Regions from separate parts of the Homo sapiens genome. Here regions 1 and 2 are each linked to region 3. The links are contacts of gene promoters, found by promoter capture Hi-C in blood cells and fetal thymus (Javierre and others, 2016). All regions are on one chromosome and are shown on one strand. Each heading gives the region's core, a stretch centred on a gene start or on the middle of the fragment in contact. The rest is flanking DNA. Distances are from core to core; before and after follow the strand shown.

Region 1 (3,218 bases), core at 110-2,609, 300 kb before region 3:
CTTCAGAATTTAAAACCTTAAGCTGGATTCAGAAGGTTGGCCTTGGGGCCATAAAGCAGCAGAGCATGGATGCTAAGGCTGTGGGTTCTGGAGTTCAGACAGTTCTGGGTTCAAATCCCAACTTTGTTCATAAGTCATGTGACTTCAGAAAGATTACTAATCTTCTCTAAGCCTTTGTTTGCTCCTCCATAAACGGGATAATTGTTTCATGATAGATCCTCAGTCAGAGCAGAATTAAGTAGAGCCCTGCTTTGGGGAAATGAAAATAGAGGTAACATTCTCTGAGCACTTTCTCTGTGTCTAGATCTGTGCTAAGCACAGATGCATATGCACAGTAATATGCATATTACTCAATCCTTACAAAAGCCCTGTGAGATCTGTGTACTTTTTCTCATATTTCTAGTGGTAGGAACCTGAGATCAGTGACCCACCCAGTAAATATTTCAGTGTGAAATAGTCCTGTAGAAGAGGGAGGAGTAGGTGGTGGGCCTGACAGGTGTAATAGGGTTGCTGGGTGGATGGTCCCAGGGCCCACTGAGGTTGTGATTGTAGGTTTTAAGTGAGACCATCAACATGTTGTATTTTTGTTCAGCCATATTCAGTTGCTCAGGTGCAGGAACAGAGCAGATGGGGAGTTGGATCTAATTAGGTTCAAGTTTAGCCAGGTAAAATCAGTTGATGAAAAGAAGAAAGTCCGCTGGGCACAGTGGCTCACACCTATAATTGCAGTACTTAAGGGAGGCTGAGGCAGGTGGATCGCTTGAGCCCAGGAGTTTAAGACCAGCCCTGGCATTGTGATGAAACCCCATCTCTACAGAAAATACAAAAAATTAGCCAGATGTGGTGGCACGTGCCTGTAGTCCCAGCTACTCGGGAGGCTGAGGTGGGAGGATCACCTGAGTGGGGAGGTTGAGGCTGCAGTGAGTTGAGATTGCTGCACTGCCCTCCAGCCTGGGTGACAGAGCTGAGACCCTGTCTCAAAAAAATAGGAAAGAAAAGAAAGTATATGCAAGAAGTGATAAGAATGATGCCTCATGGAATCTGAGCTGAGTACGGGAGAGAATGAGGGATAGTGAAACAGTTGGAGGGTTACAAATTATAGGTTTCATTTGGAATTGGGCTACAAAGGGTGATCAGAAAAAATCAGTAGTGGTTGGAGACTGGATGGAATTGAAATTACAGGAGAGGTAAACATAAGCTCTTAACTACTCTGCTATGCTGCCTCTGCTGCCCTCAGGGCCTGTGAAAGGAGAGGCTGAGGATGTGCTATAGAAGACTCACAAGAAACAACCGTAGTCAGGTGGGAGGAAGCCAGAGTCTTGGACTAGGCTGGAACAGTGGGAACAGAGTAGAAGAAATAAAAAGAAGAATGGGGGCTTGGAGACAAAGTGACTCCTTTTTCCTGTTGGGCCCAAGTCCTAGGGTGACATAAGGCTTGGTCTCTGGGTATAGCAGAGTCTCTTGGGGTACCCTAGCCAAAGGGTTTTACTGGTTCCCAGGGTGATCCCTGTCATCGCAGAGCTGCTTTCCACCTATGTTTTGTCACAGCATTCGTCTGTTCTGAGAGACTGGACTTCTTTCTGCAGAGAAGGGGAGGAGAGATTGGGGCAGGCCTGTGGCCTGGAAGGAGCCTGGAGGTTAAGACCTCACTTCATGACCGTGTGACCTAAGAGCAGTTTTGCCTCTATTTCTTAACTGGGGAAGCAGAGAGCCGATTAAACAGAATAAAATGAGCTGTGAGTGACAGCACTACAAAGTTAGCAATCACCCGAAAACTTCCATTTTCAAAACCAAACCAGTAGAACTCCATTCTGAAGTCTTAAATTGTAGCATAGGCCACCTCTCTGCCACATGCACATTGTAATGGAGATCTTAGTGCTCTCCTTGTGTGACAGGGTAGGACGGTGGAAGGAGGCAGATGGCAGAGAGAACCCAGCTTCACAGCTCCCTGCACCACCTGAAGCCTTCATTTCCTCATCCGTATACTGGGACTGTTAATACCCACCCAAGAGCTAGATGTGGAATATTCCAGAAATGTTAGTGGATACTCTGTTCTCTACCCCTGAAAGGTTCTGCCATAGCATTTAAGCCTGAAGAGACAGTTTCAAGTCCCTAGAGGGCAACCTGAGGTTAGGGAAAGCTGTCATGGCCACAACCAAAGCCCTGAAGTGAGGAAGCAGCGAAGAGTCTGGCTAACCCACAGGAAGCCTGTGGTGACAGCCAGATGAATGTCACCTAAGTGTCCTGAAGGCACAGAGGGATGTAGGTGCAGAGTCAGAAGAGCTGGGTCTTGGCTGCCCTGACTTCCTGAGGTACCGTGTACAGAATGACATAACTCTGAGACAAGGCCCTTAGAAGAAAGGCAGCACCATTCATTACATAGCCATGTGTATGTATGTAATAGGCACTTTACATTCATACCTCTAATTCTAACACCATTGTTTCTCAAACGGCAGGGCCAGGTCTACACAGAACACACAGGTACCTGCTTATAATGCAGCCTTCCCAGCCACCAGCTAGACCTGCTGAGTCTTAGTTGGGACTGGGGGTGGGCAGGGTAGGAGTCTGTATTTTAATACGCTTCTCCAGTGGTTCTTTGCAGAGGTTGCTTTTATCCATATTTTATAAATAGACTGAAGCCAACAATAATTTGCCCAAGACTACACAGTAAAGGAGTAGGTATTCAACCCAGGTCTGCCTGGCCCCAGAGACCATGCTCTGGCTAGAAGAGAGGATGATGCAGGATACCATAGAAGGAATGTGGGAGCGGGGCTGAGGGGTAGGTCTCAGCGCGGAGGCATCTGGTGAGGAGTAGGTCGGAGAAGAAGAAACGGAGATGTTTACTGGTCATGCCGTTGGAGGATCAGGGACCCACTCTTTTTAAAGGTACTTAAAAAAAAAGACTACAGGCTGGGTGCGGTGGCTCACGCTTGTAATCTCAGCACTTTGGGAAGCCGAGGCGGGCAGATCACGAGGTCAGGAGATCGAGACCATCCTGGCTAACACGGTGAAACCCCATCTCTACTAAAAATATAAAAAATTAGCCGGGCGTGGTGGCGGGCGCCTGTAGTCCCAGCTACTCAGGAGGCTGAGGCAGGAGAATGGTGTGAACCCAGGAGGCAGAGCTTGCAGTGAGCCGAGATTGTGCCACTGCACTCCAGCCTGGGCGAGAGTGAGACTCCATCTCAAATAAAAAAAAAAAAAAAAAAAAAAAGATT
Region 2 (3,210 bases), core at 367-2,866, 320 kb before region 3:
GCTGCAGCAGAGCTACAAATAAATATAAAATAAATAAAATTAAATAAAATTAAATAAATAAAAGAAAGTTATTTCAAAGGATTGTCTGAGAGGCAAAAACCTAACTGCAGTGAGTTCAAGAGAGAATGGGAGGAGAGGGGAGTTGCAGACTGTGAGTAGGCAACGCTTTTGCTGTAAAGGGGAGTAGGGAAACGGTGAGGGATATAGAGAGGGCTGGTTTTTGTTTGCCTTTGAGATGGGAGAAACAGCAGTACGGATGATGACAAGGATAAATGCAGTCATCAGAGGGAAAAGAGATGAAGGGGGGATTACTAGATCTATGTCCTTAAGCAAACAAGAGGCGATGGGATCTACCGCACACGTGGAGGGGCTGACCTTAATTAAAGTCCAAAGTATGTGGGCTGTGGAATCTCCCTTCCAATCGCAGTAGAACTCAATCCAGGCGGTCTCCGGATTTCTCCAGACCACCTCCACCTGGCGTTGTTCTGAGCTGGGCCACCGAAAGTTGAGATTACTGAATGTGTGTGTCTCCCATTAACCCGTAAGCCCTCCAAAGGCTGCATCTAAGTCGCCTCTGAATTATTCACATTCCTCCAAACTCTGGGCCACAGCCCCGCAATATGGGCTTATTGAATTAGCCCAAAGAGACACAAAGCAGCCTCTACGCAGCTGGTTTCACAAAGGGGGGCGGTCCTAACCCTGCGCTCTGGGATCCTGACGTTCGAGCTATCTCTCCTCCTCCCCTCTGCTCCCAGCTCTCCGCAGTCCAGCTTGTCGGCTGATCATCGTCCATAGAGGCCACCGTACCCGACGTTTGCGGACAGTGACAAAGAGTCAAGCTTGGTGGAGCCTGAGGACAGGACTGAATGACGATTGAACTGAGAGTTCAGGGGCGGAGTTTGAGGGCGAACTCGGGACAGAGACTGGATAGAGTTCAGGGAGGCGGGACCTAATGATGGCGCAGGGAGGGGATTGGGCTGAGGGCGGTGCCGGCGCGAGGATTGGGCCGAGCGCCTCGGGGGCGGTCCTTGAGGGGGCGGTGCCGTGTCGGAAGTCAAAGGTCAGTAAATAGTGGTGATGTCATGCAGGCAAGATGGCGGAAGGGTGAGCTTGTCGTTTTGCTCCTAGGCGTTGGGGCCTGAATTCTCCCAGGGTTGGGGTGCTGGGCGAGAGTCCCGGTGGGGAACGTGAGATCAGCGGGGGCGTGGACTGATCTGAAAGGGCAGAGTGGAGTCGCATTGTGAGGGGGTGGGCAAGCGGTCTGCGAAGCCTCGGCCCGCAGGGTACATCTGAGCGGGGAACAAACCGGATCCTTGGGCGGGCAGGAATCGCACCGCGGTGCTGCCAGATGTGTCTGTCTTCCACAGGGAGGACGTGGGATGGTGGCGGAGCTGGCTGCAGCAGAGCTACCAAGCAGTCAAAGAGAAGGTAAGCCGGGCCCGTGCCCTTCTTCCCTCAGCAGGGCCCTGCGCCGCCTCAATGCAACCTGGTCCAACCAGCCCCGCCCAACTTTTGCGGGCGCTAAGTCTCAAGGATGAGGCTGACCTGGGCCTTTCTTTTAGCCTCTACCGGTCCACGGGAAGACAGACCTCGACGCAAACCAGTGTGATACTAGCCACAGTGAAATAAAGATGGTTTTAAAGGCTGGAGTTAACGAACGTTTTGTAGGAATCCATAGGAAGGAGCAATTTATTCCAGCTCAGGAAATTCAGTTTCTTCGTGAAAGAGAGAGCATTTGATACAGGTCTTGAAGGAAAAGATTCTAGCAGTAAAAAAACTTACTCGTATAGTCATTCAAATATTAGAGTATATGCGACAACCAGCACTCTGATAGGTCTTGAGGATACAGACTTCAGCCAAACAGATGTAATCCTGGGCCTTACAAAGCTCACAGTCTAGTGGAGAGACAGCCATTAACCGAGTAGCCAAACAAATAGTTGTTTAGTTACCGTTGTGGTAAGTTCTGTGAAAGGAAAGTACAGGGGCACCTTGTCTGTTCTGGTTAGTCAGTAACTCACCAGGGAAGGCCCCTGTGGAGAAGGAACCTCATCAAGGGCAACCCTGCCTAGACAGGATGAAAAGCAAGAACCCAAGCCAGAGATGAGCATGAGCCATACACACTGGTGCCTGATGAGTTCTAAGTAGGGGCTATGCAACGGGCAGTAGAGAGAGAGAGATTAATCACCAGAGAGTGGAAGGCCTTCTTGCTGAACAATCTCTGTGGGATGAGTGATATTTGGCTGTGCCAGTGGGTAATTTGCCAATGTGTATTCCTGTTTCATTTCATGCTTATTTGTCAAAATCAGCCCAACTGAATTGTGGGAAAAGTTGATTACTATTTACCTCAAGCAATTGGGATGAGTCCTGCTTCAGGGCCAACTCCAGGAAGCTTCTGACCTCACCTAAATAAGTCCTCTACTCTGGGAGTATTTTTGTTTTGTTTTGAGACAGAGTCTCACTCTGTCACCTAGGCTGGAGTGCACAGGTGCGGTCTCAGCTCGCTGCAACCTCTGCCTCCCAGATTGAAGTGATTCTTGTGCCTCAGCCTCCCGAGTAGCTGGGATTACAGGCATGTGCCACTACTCCTGGCTAATTTTTGTATTTTTAGTAGAGACAGGGTTTCACCATGTTGGCCAGACTGGTCTCGAACTCCTCACCTCAGGTGAGCCACCTGCCTCAGCTTCCCAAAGTGCTGGGATTATAGGCGTGAGCCACCACACCCAGACATCTGGGAGCGTTTTTATTCCTCCCTTATCCTGGGTACTCCTGGACAGCCTCTCAGCAATAGCCCAGCAAATCTGAGAATGCCCTGAGCTGTTTATGTTGTTGATGAGGACTGAGAGGCTTGCACCCTAACATTTGATAGAAGAGACCCGATAGTAGCATATTTCCTGTTGGGTAATTTCCTGGCAGGAAAGTCTGACATTCATTCAGCAGATGTTGCATGAGGGCCTCCTGTGTTTGTCTCAAGGTTGGTCTTATCATAACTTATGAAAAATAGATAGTTGGCCAACCTTCCGTCTTCATTCTTGGAATTCCCAGTTAAAAGCTGGGGTGGGGGTGGAGGTGGGAGTTGTTTATGCCTTTTTGGAAAGAAAAGACGTAATTTCCCTTTTTTTACTTTCTTACTCTTATATGTACTTGGGCAAGTGTTTTTTGTTTTTTGTTTGTTTGTTTTTGAGACCAAGTCTGGCTCTGTTACCAGGCTGG
Region 3 (3,255 bases), core at 692-3,191:
CTGCCAGTCACCTAGTATCTCACTTTATCATTTAATCCTCACTGAGACCTATGATCTGGCCCCTTCTTACATCTTCAGCTTCATCCCCTATCATTCTCTACCTCACACCCACCCTCTACCACCCGCCCCATGCTCTAAACATCTTGATCTTTCTTTCCTCAGCAAGCCAAGCTCATTGCTACCTCTAGCACTTATAATATCCTATCTGGAAAGCCTTTCCCGGACTGCCATTTCTGAAGTTTTGAAGTAACTCCCCATCACTCTCTCTCCAATTTCTATTCTTTTTTTCCACCAGAATTCACTCTCTGAAATTATCTTACTCATTTGTTAATATGCTTATTGCTTGTCTGTCCTATTACAATGAAAGGTCAATGAGGTCAGTTACCTTATCTTTTTCACTGCTATATCCCCTACCTCAGTGCCCAGCAAGTATATGTTGATGAGTGAATGAACCCAGCAAGGTAGGTTTTTCACACATTAGGAAACTCAGCTTACACTATGTCACAGTATCGTGGCTGGGTCGTGTGCTCTCAACTCTGGTACACATTGGGCCCCATTCAGACATAAGTTTCTGGAGGCCTATAACTCTGGGTAACTTTGGGACAGCTTTTTCATCCAGGGCCCCATGATTCAGCTCAAAGGGCATTCTGGGATCTCATGGGCAGGACCCAGGGCCTAAATAAAGGGTCAAGGATATGGCTGGGAGAATCCTGTGGCTGTGGACTGAAAAATTGGACCTACTAGGCTGAGCAGTCTAGCCCAAGCTCCCACGCACCACTTCGCACAAAAGTTCTGCACAAAGCTCCTAAGCACCTAAAAAAGTCACAACCTGACTGGGTGTGGTGGCTCACGACTGTAATCTCAGCAATTTGTGAGGCCGAGGCGGGAGGATCGCTTGAGACCAGGAGTTGGAGACCAGCCTGGGCAACATGGCGAAACCCGGTCTCTATTAAAAAATATATATACATACATATACATATTTTTAAAAAGTTATAACCTGTTCATACCTCTTCACAGTAACACAGCAGCCTCCATTCACATACACCCCACGCCGTAGCATCTCAGCTCGGAAGCGTTTCCCACACTTCGGAGCCAATTTTGGGCTTGGATGTATGCCCAAAATTATAAACCTCCACAAGTCTCTAAAAAGTACCTGGCGAAGAGCTCTGCCCTCCATAAACCCCCAGACCAGAAGCTCTGTTCATACGCTGTTATACTTGGCTTAGAAAATCCCACACAAACACCCTTAGTCCAGTCCAGAAGCTCTGCCCACACCCACTCTCCTCTCTTTAGAAGCTCTGCACCCACATAAAGCCCCTCAGCCCAGAAGCTCCGCCTACACACAACTGTCAGCCCAGAAACCCCGCCCACAAGCCAATAAAAGCCCTCTCAGCCCAGAAGCCCCACTCCAGAATGGGCTCCCTCAGTCGGAAGTCTCCCCGCTCCACCGCCCCCAGTGTAACCCCTCCAACCCAGAAACGCCGACTGCACTAGCGCCCCCTGCCCAGAATCTCCACCCTTAGCGCTGAAGCCACGCCCACTGGTAAGTCCCGCCCCCCTTTCTAGCCCCGACGAGCTGGTCCTCACGAAAGCCCAAGCCCCCACAGGGCTTCGTCTTAGAAGCCCCGCCCACCGTCCAATGTCCCGCCCCCACAACAGAGGCCCCACCCCGCAAAACGACAGGAGGGGGCGGGATCCCGTCTGCGCTCGCATCCCCTCCCCCTCCCGTCACCGGGCTCCTGTCCGCGTGGAGCAGCAATTAGCAGCCTGGCCATCCTAACCCGTGCGCCCGCTCGTTGCCAGGCCGAGCCTGAGCCGCTCTGCTCACCCATCTCCTCCCCCCGGTGCTCTCCGCTTCGCCGCCGCAGCTCCTGCGGGCAATATGTCGGAGGCGACGGCGGCCGGGAGAGGACTAACCGCCGCAGCCCAGTCCCGGGTATCAGCCGCGCGCTCCCGCCGCGCCGCTACATTTGCATACAAGGCGGGCTGGAAGCTGGCGCGCGCTTCTTAAAGGGGCCGCCCGGACGGAGGCGGTGCCTGCGCGCTCTTTGTCTCTCGGTCCCCCACGCCCTTCCTGCAGCTGCTGGTGAAGAGACTCAAGAGGGAGGGGAACGGAACCCACCTCCTGCTCTTCCCGTGCGTGTCTTCTCTCAGCATCTCCTGGACCGGGGCGGCGGCGACCGGAGGAGGGTGCGGAGCCGCCTCTCCGCTCCCCTAGGGGTGGACCATATCCCTGACCGGTCCGCAGGCACCTCCAGCCCAGCCCCACGTTGCGCTTCATCCTTCTCTTAGGCCTCACTGCGCTTTAGTCCACCCCAGTCAAAATCCAGGAGTCATTTCCTCCCTCCCTCGGCCCCCACATCCGATCTTTGCCTTAGTCTTTGTGAGCCTAAGTCCTAAATATTTCTCACATTTGACGTTACTCACCGTTCTCATTGTCAACACCGTGGTTCAGATCCTGACTGCCATTTCCCAGCCTTGCAATCTTGTTTTTTTATGCTTTACGATGAGGCTGCTGATGGTCACCGTGTAGGTTTCGGTGAGGGTTAAATGAAATAGAGCATGCAGAACTGAGTCTGTTTTAGTATTAGCCATCACGATGTTTGGAGAAGCATTGACTAAATGAGCTACATTTATTGTCATTAGGATTCTTCCCTCACAAGACCTACAAGCAGTTTTAGTCATCTTGTAGCTCCATTGCTTAGCACAGTGCTTGGCACTTAATAGCAGTATTCAATTAATTGAATGAATTAGTAGATATTTCATTAATAGTCATAGAGCTTACAGTCAAGTGGGAGGAGATAGACATGAACAAAATTGGTAAATTCTGTAGTATGTTAGATGGGAATGGTGTGAAGGAAAAACAGGAAAGGGGGATGGGGTTGCAGTTTTAAATAGGGCAGGCAGAGCAGGCTTCAGAGTTGACTTGAGTAAACACATGAAGGAAATGAGTGAGTCAGTGGTGCAGATTTCTGGAGAAAGGGGGCATTTCAGGCAGAGGGAATAGTTAGTGCAAGGTCCCTCAGGCAGGAGGGTGTATTTATTTTATTATTTTGTTTTTTGAGGGGATGGAGTCTCTGTTGCCCAGGCTGGAGAGCAGTGGCTCGATCTCGGCTCACTGCAACCTCCACCTGCTGGGTGCAAGCGATTCTCCTGCCTCAGCCTCCCAACAAGCTGAAATTACAGGCGTGCACCACCATGCCCGGCTAATTTTTGTTTTTGTTTTGTTTTGTTTTTTTGAGACTGGAGTCTCCC

What was found. Contacts are between HindIII fragments. The CHiCAGO score rates a contact against its expected background, and 5 or more counts as called.
Region 1: a contact is called between a fragment that was not itself captured here and the fragment with the promoter of TMEM39B in region 3, in 2 of 17 cell types (non-activated CD4 T cells and naive CD4 T cells). The highest score is 5.5, in non-activated CD4 T cells.
Region 2: a contact is called between a fragment that was not itself captured here and the fragment with the promoter of TMEM39B in region 3, in 6 of 17 cell types (non-activated CD4 T cells, total CD4 T cells, activated CD4 T cells and 3 more). The highest score is 6.3, in non-activated CD4 T cells.

Annotation. Positions count from the first base shown.
Region 1 is chr1:32,371,300-32,374,517 of GRCh38, reverse strand. The region is part of intron 9 of BSDC1 (BSD domain containing 1); the gene reads left to right. Among named protein-coding and RNA genes, the nearest start is that of TSSK3, 10 kb to the right of the region's middle. The HindIII fragment of the contact is 4,388 bases long and covers 1-3,218 here.
Region 2 is chr1:32,392,298-32,395,507 of GRCh38, reverse strand. It overlaps BSDC1 (BSD domain containing 1), which reads left to right and starts at 1,067. Exons shown (of 11, transcript NM_018045.8): 1 at 1,067-1,104; 2 at 1,368-1,428. The coding sequence starts at 1,094. RefSeq lists enhancers at 682-761, 633-1,328, 1,052-1,341, 1,329-2,026. The HindIII fragment of the contact is 1,550 bases long and covers 842-2,391 here.
Region 3 is chr1:32,071,625-32,074,879 of GRCh38, reverse strand. It overlaps TMEM39B (transmembrane protein 39B), which reads right to left and starts at 1,941. Exons shown (of 9, transcript NM_018056.4): 1 at 1,829-1,941. The coding sequence starts at 1,832. RefSeq lists an enhancer at 1,937-2,542. The HindIII fragment of the contact is 11,018 bases long and covers 1-3,255 here.